Regions from separate parts of the Homo sapiens genome. Here region 2 is linked to region 1. Evidence: promoter capture Hi-C in 16 types of primary human blood cells and fetal thymus (Javierre and others, 2016). All regions are on one chromosome and are shown on one strand. The core of a region is centred on a gene start or on the middle of the fragment in contact, and the rest is flanking DNA. Distances in the headings are between cores, read along the strand shown.

Region 1 (5,219 bases), core at 2,212-4,711:
CTAGGAACTGTGTAGATAATTTCTAGAAGCTGCATTTTCCCCAATCCATTGACTCATTCTGCACTGCACCCCCAGCACTCCCTTGTCATGACTGTACTTTCTTCCTGCACAGGTCAAATCCTGTAGATTCTTCTCATATTCCCTCTCTTTTCCCTTTTCTGACACTTGCCACTGTTGGCCACTCTAGTCTTAAAACTTGCACCTCTCATTACTCCATTCACTGGCTTGACTTCTTCTGCCCATCAAGAAAAGTTGCTCAGAGTTCTCTCCATCACCATCATTGTCTTCTTTCTTTTTTGTGTTCTCTTAAGGCACTCTGAAGCACACCCATTTACTAATAATCCCAATTACCATATTTCTCTTCTGTATTCTGGAATCACACATCCAACAGCATGCTAGATGTTTCTGCCTCGATGTCCCACAAGCATATTGAAAACCTCATGTCCCCACACCTATTAGGATGGCCATTATCAAAAAACCCAGGAAATATCAAGTGTTGGCAAGGATGTGGAGAAATCCGAACCCCTGTGCATTATTAGTAGGAATATAAAATGTTGCAGCCTCTGTAAAAAACAAAACAAAAACAGAGGTCCATCAAGAAGTTAAAAATAGAATTATCATATGATCCAGCAATTCCACTCTGGGTCCATGTACAAAAGAACTGAAAGTAGGATTTGTAGGGAAAGAAAACCATACACCTTTAGGGAATTATTTGAAATCTGTATGTGTCACTTCCAACTATCTTATTCACCCGTGCCTCATCATTTGTCCATAGCTAGCTGCAAGAGGCTTGGAAAAGTAGTCTTTAGCTGTGTGTCTATGAGTTCAGAATAAACCTATTACTACAGAAGAAGAGACAAATAAATATTGAGGCGACCACTAGCACTTACTGGCACAATATTCAACCATGACTTCATGAGTGCCTTGCCCTTTCAGAGAAGATGAAGTATTAATTCACTCAAACTTACCTAATGAATGTATGATTCAGCATGAGATGCAAGGGGTAGAAACAAAAAGTGAGCTTGAGATCAAGATTAATGCAGGTGTTAGTAACTAGGCACTGACCTGGGTTTAAATGGAAGAGCAAGGGCTGTCATCCAACAACTTATTCAACTTAAGCTCCTTAAAATAATTTTCATGCTGACAAGGATACAAACATGTAGGAATATCTTCTTGTTTACTAGTTCAACATTTGAACTTGGGTCTGTCATTGGCCCTTTTACCTACTAGGTTCTACCAGGTTTATGACTCTTCTGCTGCATATTCAAGGTGCCATTATTCACAATAGCTAAAAGGTGGAAGCAGACCAAATGTCCATAGGCAGATGAATGGATAAACAAAATGGTGTAACATACAATGGAATGTTATTCAGCCTCAAAAAGAAAGAAAATTCTGATGCACGTTACAATATAGATTAACTTGGAGGACTTTATGCTAAGTGAAATAAGTCAATCACAACAAAACAAATACTGTATTGTTCCACTTATATGAGGTATCTAGAGTAGTCAACTACTACATTGCCAACAACTAGAGTAGTCAACTCATAGAAACAGAAAGTAGAGTGGAAGTCACCAAGGACTGTGGAGAGGGGGAATGGGGAGTTGTTGTTTAATGGGTACAGGGTTTCAGTTTTGTGAGACAAGAAGTTCAGAGATTGGTTATACAACAATGTGAATGTACTTAATGCCACCAAAATGTACATTTTACAATGGTTAAGATGGTGTGACTTTTATGTTACACTTATCTTGCCATAAGGAAACAAACAAACAAAAATATGTCCCCACTAAACTCTGTATTTATTCCGCAATCTGCTTCTCTTAATGGTTTTTCAAATCTCAATGACTGGCATTCATCAGTCATCCAGACAGAAAGCTGGGTGCTAACCTGAAATTCTCCTTCCGTGTCACCCTCTCTGTCAAACTAATAAGCAAGCCCTTTGGCACTATATTCTTAACGTCTATTCATACTCCCCACTCTGTCCATCTGCTTGTTACGCTTTTCAACTCTCTCACCCAGATTTGCTGCTGATACTATTATTTTCTTAACTGCTCCCTCTGCGCTAAATTGCTCCATTTCAAATTATTTTCCATGTTTTGACTAGAACCATTTTTTTTCTAAAATCCAGATGTGAACAAATTATTTCCATACCCCAAAATACATTAATACTTCCCCACTGGCTGCTACTACTTAGAATGGAAAATAAGGCTCTTGCTGATCTAGCCCATTTCTTTCTTTTCTAATTCCTTGCTCTTATTTCTTCTTGCGCCTTTTTTCATACAATGCACTCCAGCTATAGGAAACCCTTTGTAGTTCCAGAGAACATATTGTACTGTTTTATGCCTCTACGACTTTGTTTATGCTGCACTCTGTGCCTGGACTGCTAAGAATCCTCCTCCCCATCCTGTCCACCTGGTGAACACCTGGGTTTCTTTGAAGGCAAGTCAAAACTCATGCCCTATATGAAGCTTTTTCTGACTTCTTCCTTTTTCTCTTAGAATTTATTTTTCCTCCTTCTTGACTCCTATACAAAAAATTTTAAAAAGTATTTGCTTCTGTAACATTTTATTGCACTTGTTTTACATGTGTGGGTCCCTTTATTTCATCATAATTATTTTGAAATCAGGGCTGTGGTTTAGTTTTCTTTATATCCTTAAAACCCAGACAGTGTTTGGAATACTGTACGTATTTATTAAAAATTGGCTGGATATATTATTATGTGGAATTTTTTTTTTTTTTGAGACAGAGTCTCGCTCTGTCGCCCAGGCTGGAGTGCAGTGGTGCCATCTTGGCTCACTGCAACCTCTCCCTCCTGGGTTCAAGTGATTCTCCTGCCTCAACCTCCCGAGTAGCTGGGATTACAGGTACCTGCCACCATGTCCAGCTATTTTTTGTACTTTTAGTAGAGACGGAGCTTCACCATGTTGGCCAAGCTGGTCTTGAGCCCCTGACCTCAGGTGATCTGCCCACCTCGGCCTCCCAAAGTGTTGGGATTACAGGCATGAGCCACCGCGCCTGGCCATGGATATTAATTGAACATTCATTCAACGAACATTTATTGAACACCTGTTATAAGTGTTGGGGATACCAAGCATCTAGTGCATAATTTAGCAAAACAGATAGTTTAAAGAAAATAGTGTTAATACTTACCCCATGATATGGCAAGTACTTAGCGAATGTATCAATTGAGTGGTTTGATAGGTGGGGGAAGTGAGAGGTGATAGGGTGATAGTGGTGGTGAGTTAGAAAAAGTCTCTCACAGGCAGTACTGTTGGAATGATTATTTTCGGTAAGTTTACCAGGTAAATTCTTTGTGGATTAGGTAATGAATTTTATTAACCATTGCATCTTTGAAGCTTAGCACAGAGATTATACTTAGTAATGTAAGTATATTGGTGGAACAAACAGAACCCATAAAACATTTTGGGTTCAGCCTATTGACTTCATTGTATCGGTACAATTTTTCTCCATGTTGGGAATAGCTGGAGAGAAATTGAGAAATCAAGAAGGATGTTGATGCTTTTTAAAGAGTGTGGATGTATCCTATAGGCAACTGGGCTAGGAGAAGCTTTTAAGCAGGAAAGTTGTAGGACCAACTTTGTTTATTAGGAAGAAAATAGAATTGGAGGGTAAAGAGATCAAAAGTCAGAAAATGTTGGGAGATCATTGCCTGGGTGAGCGATGATGTTGGGTTTTTGTGACAGCAAAAATGGAGAGGAAGGGCTGAATTCTGAGAGTTTTTAAGCCTATAAGATGTAGTGACGATGAGATGAGGGAGGAAAGATGGAGAAAGTGAAAATGAGAACAACAGGGTTTGTTATGAGGCTTGTGGGCGATAACGTATGTGACAGCAATCTATAAACCCAAAATATTGCACACGGTTGTTTTTATTATCTTTTTCTAGTTGCTCTGAGTTTAGATTGAGAAGGTGGCTGTACTTTTGGAGACGTGTTCATATCTAAGGAAGATACCAAATTTCGGATTAGGTTTTTATTTCGGAGACTTTTCAAGGAACATGAGAAGATTATCTGAGAAGATTATCTGCGCAGACAGGCCGAGCGACGGAAAGAACTCAGTTCAGCTCCATCTCAGGAAACACCTGATCTCCACGAGCTTTTGAGGAAGCCCGGAGCCACAGAGCCCCACCCACTTCTTTCCCGACCGCGCCATCCTTCCTCACTCCCGGCCTCCTCTCTAGCCAATCACCGCTCAGTTTAACGTCATCACCGAGCGCCATCAGGGAGCGTGTCAGAGGCCGACCACGTGTACTGTGGAGACTGTCAAAGTCTCCCGGAGCCCAATTTCCGGAAGCGGTGAGTTCTGAAAGAAGTTCCTGCACCGTAGTTTCCCAAGTCTGCGAATCCCCAACCATGAGCGCCTCGGGCGTACTGTCCTTTACCCAGCAAGGATGGGAGCAGGTGCTGGCCAAAGTGAAACGGGCTGTGGTTTACCTGGACGCCGCCTGCGCCGAGAGCCTGCACTGGGGCTGCGGATCCACCCGTCTCCTGGAGGCGGTGGGGGGTCCTGACTGTCACCTGCGAGAGTTCGAGCCCGACGCAATTGGTGGTGGAGCCAAGCAGCCCAAGGCAGTGTTTGTGCTGAGCTGCCTGCTGAAAGGCCGGACCGTGGAGATCCTACGGGACATCATCTGCCGCAGTCACTTCCAGTATTGTGTGGTGGTCACAACCGTGAGCCACGCTGTCCACCTCACAGCTAATCATGTCCCAGCGGCGGCAGCGGCCGAGATGGAGGGGCAGCAGCCGGTGTTCGAGCAGCTGGAGGAGAAGCTGTGTGAATGGATGGGCAACATGAACTACACGGCCGAGGTGTTCCATGTCCCGTTATTGCTTGCCCCTGTTGCTCCCCACTTTGCCTTGACTCCAGCTTTTGCATCCCTTTTCCCACTGCTACCCCAGGATGTGCACCTCCTTAATAGCGCCCGACCGGACAAGAGGAAGCTGGGAAGCCTGGGTGATGTGGACTCCACTACGCTAACCCCAGAGCTGCTGCTGCAGATCAGATGCCTAGTGTCAGGCCTCAGTTCTCTGTGTGAACATTTAGGAGTACGGGAGGAGTGTTTTGCTGTAGGTTCCTTAAGTCAGGTCATCGCTGCGGATCTGGCCAATTATGCCCCTGCAAAGAACAGGAAGAAGACTGCTGCAGGCAGGGCATCAGTGGTTTTTGTGGACAGAACCCTGGATCTCACAGGTAAGTGCATTGCT
Region 2 (4,738 bases), core at 1,275-3,774, about 20 Mb before region 1:
GAATCGCTTGAACACGGGAGGCGGAGGTTGCGGTGAGCTGAGATTGTGCCATTGCATTCCAGCCTGAGCAACAAGAGCTAAACTCTGTCTCAAAAAAAGAAGTTCATCACATGACTATAACCAACTACAAGGAAAGCTGTGAAATTTAGTTTAGCTGTGTGCCCGGGAAGAAGAAATAAGTTTCATGGGCTAGTCAGTCCCTGCCAGAGGTTCTAACGGGGGGAAAAAAAGATAAAAATAAAAGAAAGTGACTTTACATGCCTTGTCCATTTTAATAGTTTTGAACCTTATCCTACTAGTGAAACAGGATCATCATTTCACTATTATATTAAAGAACAAAAAACTCATTTTCTTCCAAACAATGAGATTACTTTAAAGAGAGCATTTTTGGTAGCACAGCACGATAGACACAGAGACTAGACTGCAGAGGGCTGACAAGTCAATTTCAGAAAACAAAAAAGACACTGATTGTAGACACTTTTTTTTTGAGATGGAGTCTCGCTCTGTCGCCCAAGCTAGAGTGCAGTAGCAGGATCTCAGCTCACTGCAAACTCCGCCTCGCAGGTTCAAGCGATTCTCCTGCTTCAGCCTCCTGAGTATAGAATACTTTTTAAAGAAAGAAAGTTTGCTTGTGAAGGAAATAATTGAAAGCTACAGAAGAATTAGCTAAGGAACCAGAATTTGTAGAAGGTTGACAACAGAAAAGATAATAAATGCATGAGAAAGAGGGGTATTGGAACTAGAATATGTATGAAGAGTTTATCTCATATATGAACAGGGAGTCTCTCATTCGTTGATACTGGAGAAAAGGCAATCTCAGGAAATTTCTAGCACTTGGAAAATTGTGAAGTCTAAGTTAAAAGTCATATAATAAAATGGGCTGGGATTTAAAGATTGCGAAAAGTATTCAAGTGGAAAGGGAGAAAAAGATGCTGAAGAATATACAAAGTAGGAGGGAGGGATGCAGCTGAAATTATAAAATCTAAATCAGTAGTGGTGAGATACACAATGCAGTGCTCTGTTCTACACTGGAACTCAGCAACGACTGTAGGAGAGGAATAGGCAGATGGTTACCACTCCGTATATATATTTACTATAGCACTTATTACACTGTAAAGCCCCTGGAAACAAGAGACTTTGATTCCACAAATTATGCGCACAGTAGGCACATGATGAATTTTTGTTTGAATGAATTGATTTAGTCATTGCCAATTCTGCCTTGGTACTCTGTAGAGTACTGGCAACTGCCCACATTTCATATGGTATGCCAATGCTAAAAAGAAAAAAAATGCTAAAAAAAAAAAAAATCCAGGCATATTCAGCTAAACTAAGCAGTCTTAAAATGGCAACTATGTCAGCTGAGACATACTTTTAATCTTGTGCCAGTACATCTGTCTTTGATGTTTGCTTCATTTTCCGTATGCCACTATACTCCTACTAGACCAGAAAGGGATAATTCTGAGTTCAATGGGCTCCACTATCATTTCAAAAGTCCTGAAACTTCTTCAGACACCTAAAAATGAACCCACAACTCCCATAACAGCATTCCTTCCGAGAGAAGTATACAGACAACAATCACTATTTATGCTTGCTTCCAAGCTGAATCGAAGAGGGCCGGAAGAGCTAAATCAGGGTCATTCAGTGAATCGTCTACAAAGTCTGGCACAGACCACGCATCCTTCCCGTGTCTTCCTCCCCTTGGAAACTTGAGGTGTAAGTAATGATCTTAGACATCTCCTAATCGACTGCCTTCATATTACACACGTGTAAACTCAGGTAGAGGATGTCTATGAGCCGAGCTTAAACTCAGGTAAAGAAGGCTCTTTTCCCAACACGACGCCATCTCTCATGATCCAAAGCTCTATCTCTCGATTTGGCGGTGGAAAAAAATGACCAGGAATAAAACTACGTACAGCAGTCCAGAACGAGGCCCCACCTCCCGGATCTGGCGGACCGGCCTCCCGTCAGCAAAGTGTCTGGACCGCGCTTCCGCACCTCACACTGCCCGGGGCCGGCTCCTCTCCAGCCTCCCCGTACTCCCCACACGCCGCAGCACTGCGCGCCCGCGGGGCCCCAGACCCGGCCCTTGAAATCTCACTTTCGCCTTTCGGCCACCCGCGCGCCACGGCTCAGGCGACGGCTGATGGCGTCACTGCACTTCCGCCTGCGGCTGCGTTCTAATCACAAGCCAGGAAGGAAGAAGGGAGGGCTGCAGGGCTGTGTGTGCGGGAAATAGCGAGGAAAGAGAAGAAATCCGGGAGCTCGCGGGCGCTCTGGTTGCAATCGCGCCCCCCTCATCTGTCCCCGCCGTTCCCCTTCGGAAGCTGCCCCAGGCACACTTCCCCGCTTCTTTCCAGTCTCCTCTCCTCTGGTTCTCCCGACACCCGGTCTCCCTGTTACGCCTCACCCTCCTTCCCTTGCTCCCTCCCTCTCCCTCCCTCCCTCCCTCCCATCGTCAGGCTCCCCGCCCTTAGTATCGCGAGACGAGGTGAGAGCTGGCGGAGCGGCGGCGGCGGCGGCGGCAGTAGAGGTGACCGAGGCGGTGGCGGCGGAGGCGGCACCGATTGCTGTGTCGGCCCCAGTGCGGCCGAAGTCGCGGTAGAGCGTAGCCCCACGCCCCTCCCCCGTCCGCGCCCTCCCTCTTTCCCTGGGGATGGAGAAGGCGACGGTTCCGGTGGCGGCGGCGACGGCTGCAGAAGGAGAAGGGAGCCCCCCGGCGGTGGCGGCTGTGGCGGGCCCCCCCGCGGCGGCGGAGGTCGGCGGCGGCGTTGGCGGCAGCAGCAGAGCTCGCTCGGCCTCGTCTCCTCGTGGGATGGTGCGAGTCTGCGACCTGCTCCTGAAGAAGAAGCCGCCGCAGCAGCAGCACCACAAGGCCAAGCGTAACCGGACTTGCCGACCCCCCAGCAGCAGCGAAAGCAGCAGCGACAGCGACAACAGCGGCGGCGGTGGAGGCGGCGGTGGAGGCGGAGGTGGCGGCGGCGGCACCAGCAGTAACAACAGCGAGGAAGAAGAGGACGACGACGACGAGGAAGAGGAGGTTTCTGAGGCAAGGGCCTGGTTTCAAAGGAAGGAGGGAGGAAGGGACTGTAAGGGATAGGGGCCGAAGGTGGGAGGGGATTTGGAGTGGGACAGATTCCAGTGGGTTGATCTCTTAGGGGCCAGGCTTTCGACTGCCCCCTTTCTTCCCTCGGCCTAAATCGTGAGGTGTGGGAATGTGGGGGAGGGTAGCTGACACGTGGGGGTGGGAGGACCACGGAGTTCACAGAGTTGGTGAACAGCCTGTTATCATGGGATGGCTCACTTGGTTAAGGATGGAGGGAATTGGTTAGATTCCCTGTTTGCACGCCGGGGGGTGGGGGGGTGGTCTGCCTGGGGCCAGTAGGGCCACCTTAGTCTGAGGCGGGATCGGGATCAAAGCGGGAGGAGTAAAATAATGGGTAAATGAGTCTCTTGGGGACCAACTAGGAGGTTGATCAACTTCTCCCAGTTGTGAGGTGGAGGGGAGCAGTTTGAGGGGGGACGTAAGGTTGTAATGGACTCAGAGCTAAGTGTTTGTGTATGTGAGGGACACGTGAGAAGCTGTACTTTTCCATACTGTTCTGCAGGGTTTTTCGTAACTATCCTGGCTGCTGAAGTAACTTCATTTCCTCGATCTCCCAGGGATTTTCGATGAACTGATGCTGTATTTGTATAAATTTATCAGTAACTTTAAATAATTACAAATGACCATATACATTTGTAAGTGGATGAAAAATATATTTGATCCTTACACGTACATACATACATGCCTTCGAATGTTTCCTTAGTGAGTTAGAATTAAGCTAGGACCTGTTGTCCCGTAATATGGGACAGCCAAAGGGTAGGCTTTGGAGCCAGGCCTGGTTGTGGTGAGTTGGAATAGGAAGGCCTCTCGGTTTGTCCTAGTGATCTGGTTTCATAATAACTTTATAATTTTTCCTGGGTCCACAGACAGGCGGCGTTGCAGGACCTTATTCCTCACAGAAGCCCTTACAACCCAAAGGCTCAGTAAAACATACCATACTGACAACCAACTGAGAGTTAGCTTTACTAGTTATTAGCTGTTTTACCACTCTCTTGTCTCCTTCCTGAAATAGAATCTAGAAAAATCTTTATTTGGAGAGGGAAATCTTTATCAGCAGAGGGAAAACAGCTTTAAAGGCTGATTTTAAACTTAGTTCTAAGAGGAGACCAAGTGATTCATCTAAAAGTACCACTTACTATTTATTCTCTTCCACAAACATGGAACTTATTTTGATGCAAGTCTGGTTTTCCGAAAATTGGAATTATTGAATCCTGGTCTCTGTTGAAATAGAGAAGTACCTTTTAAAGGATTTGACACATGTCTATTTGTAGAAGACCAGATTCTCTTTTATCTCAGACTGGATGAAGTTGTATAGGTAGAGATATTAAGTGCTGAAGTATGTATGACAAAAATATGCCAGTCCTTGTTTTTATTCCCTTTTAGCCTGTTGGATTCTGAGAATAGGTTTGTATTGATAGACTTATATTGGCCTACTTGGATGTTTAGGATAGTGTGTTGCTCTGGCGGCATTTGAAACAAGGAAGAGAAAGATGTAATGGGGTCCTTATCCCTAATAAAATTTGTTATGGTACTTAGAATCATTCAATTGTATGATTCTTCTCAAAGGTGAGAAACATTTTACAGGTAATTCAGCCCTTTATTTTAAAAAGGAGGAAAACAAGGTTTAGAGGAAAG

What was found. Contacts are between HindIII fragments. The CHiCAGO score rates a contact against its expected background, and 5 or more counts as called.
Region 2: the fragment with the promoter of ANKRD17 here is called in contact with a fragment that was not itself captured in region 1 in 1 of 17 cell types (total CD4 T cells); the score reaches 6.8 in total CD4 T cells.

Annotation. Positions count from the first base shown.
Region 1 is chr4:53,365,090-53,370,308 of GRCh38, reverse strand. SCFD2 (sec1 family domain containing 2) reads left to right here and starts at 4,248. Exons shown (of 9, transcript NM_152540.4): 1 at 4,248-5,205. The coding sequence starts at 4,368. RefSeq lists enhancers at 4,283-4,332, 4,353-4,552, 4,773-4,822. The HindIII fragment of the contact is 212 bases long and covers 3,356-3,567 here.
Region 2 is chr4:73,256,584-73,261,321 of GRCh38, reverse strand. ANKRD17 (ankyrin repeat domain 17) reads left to right here and starts at 2,524. Exons shown (of 34, transcript NM_032217.5): 1 at 2,524-3,046. The coding sequence starts at 2,654. ANKRD17-DT (ANKRD17 divergent transcript) reads right to left here and starts at 2,156. Exons shown (of 5, transcript NR_187399.1): 1 at 1,914-2,156. RefSeq lists enhancers at 2,003-2,272, 1,875-2,471 and a silencer at 2,433-2,832. The HindIII fragment of the contact is 8,436 bases long and covers 1-4,738 here.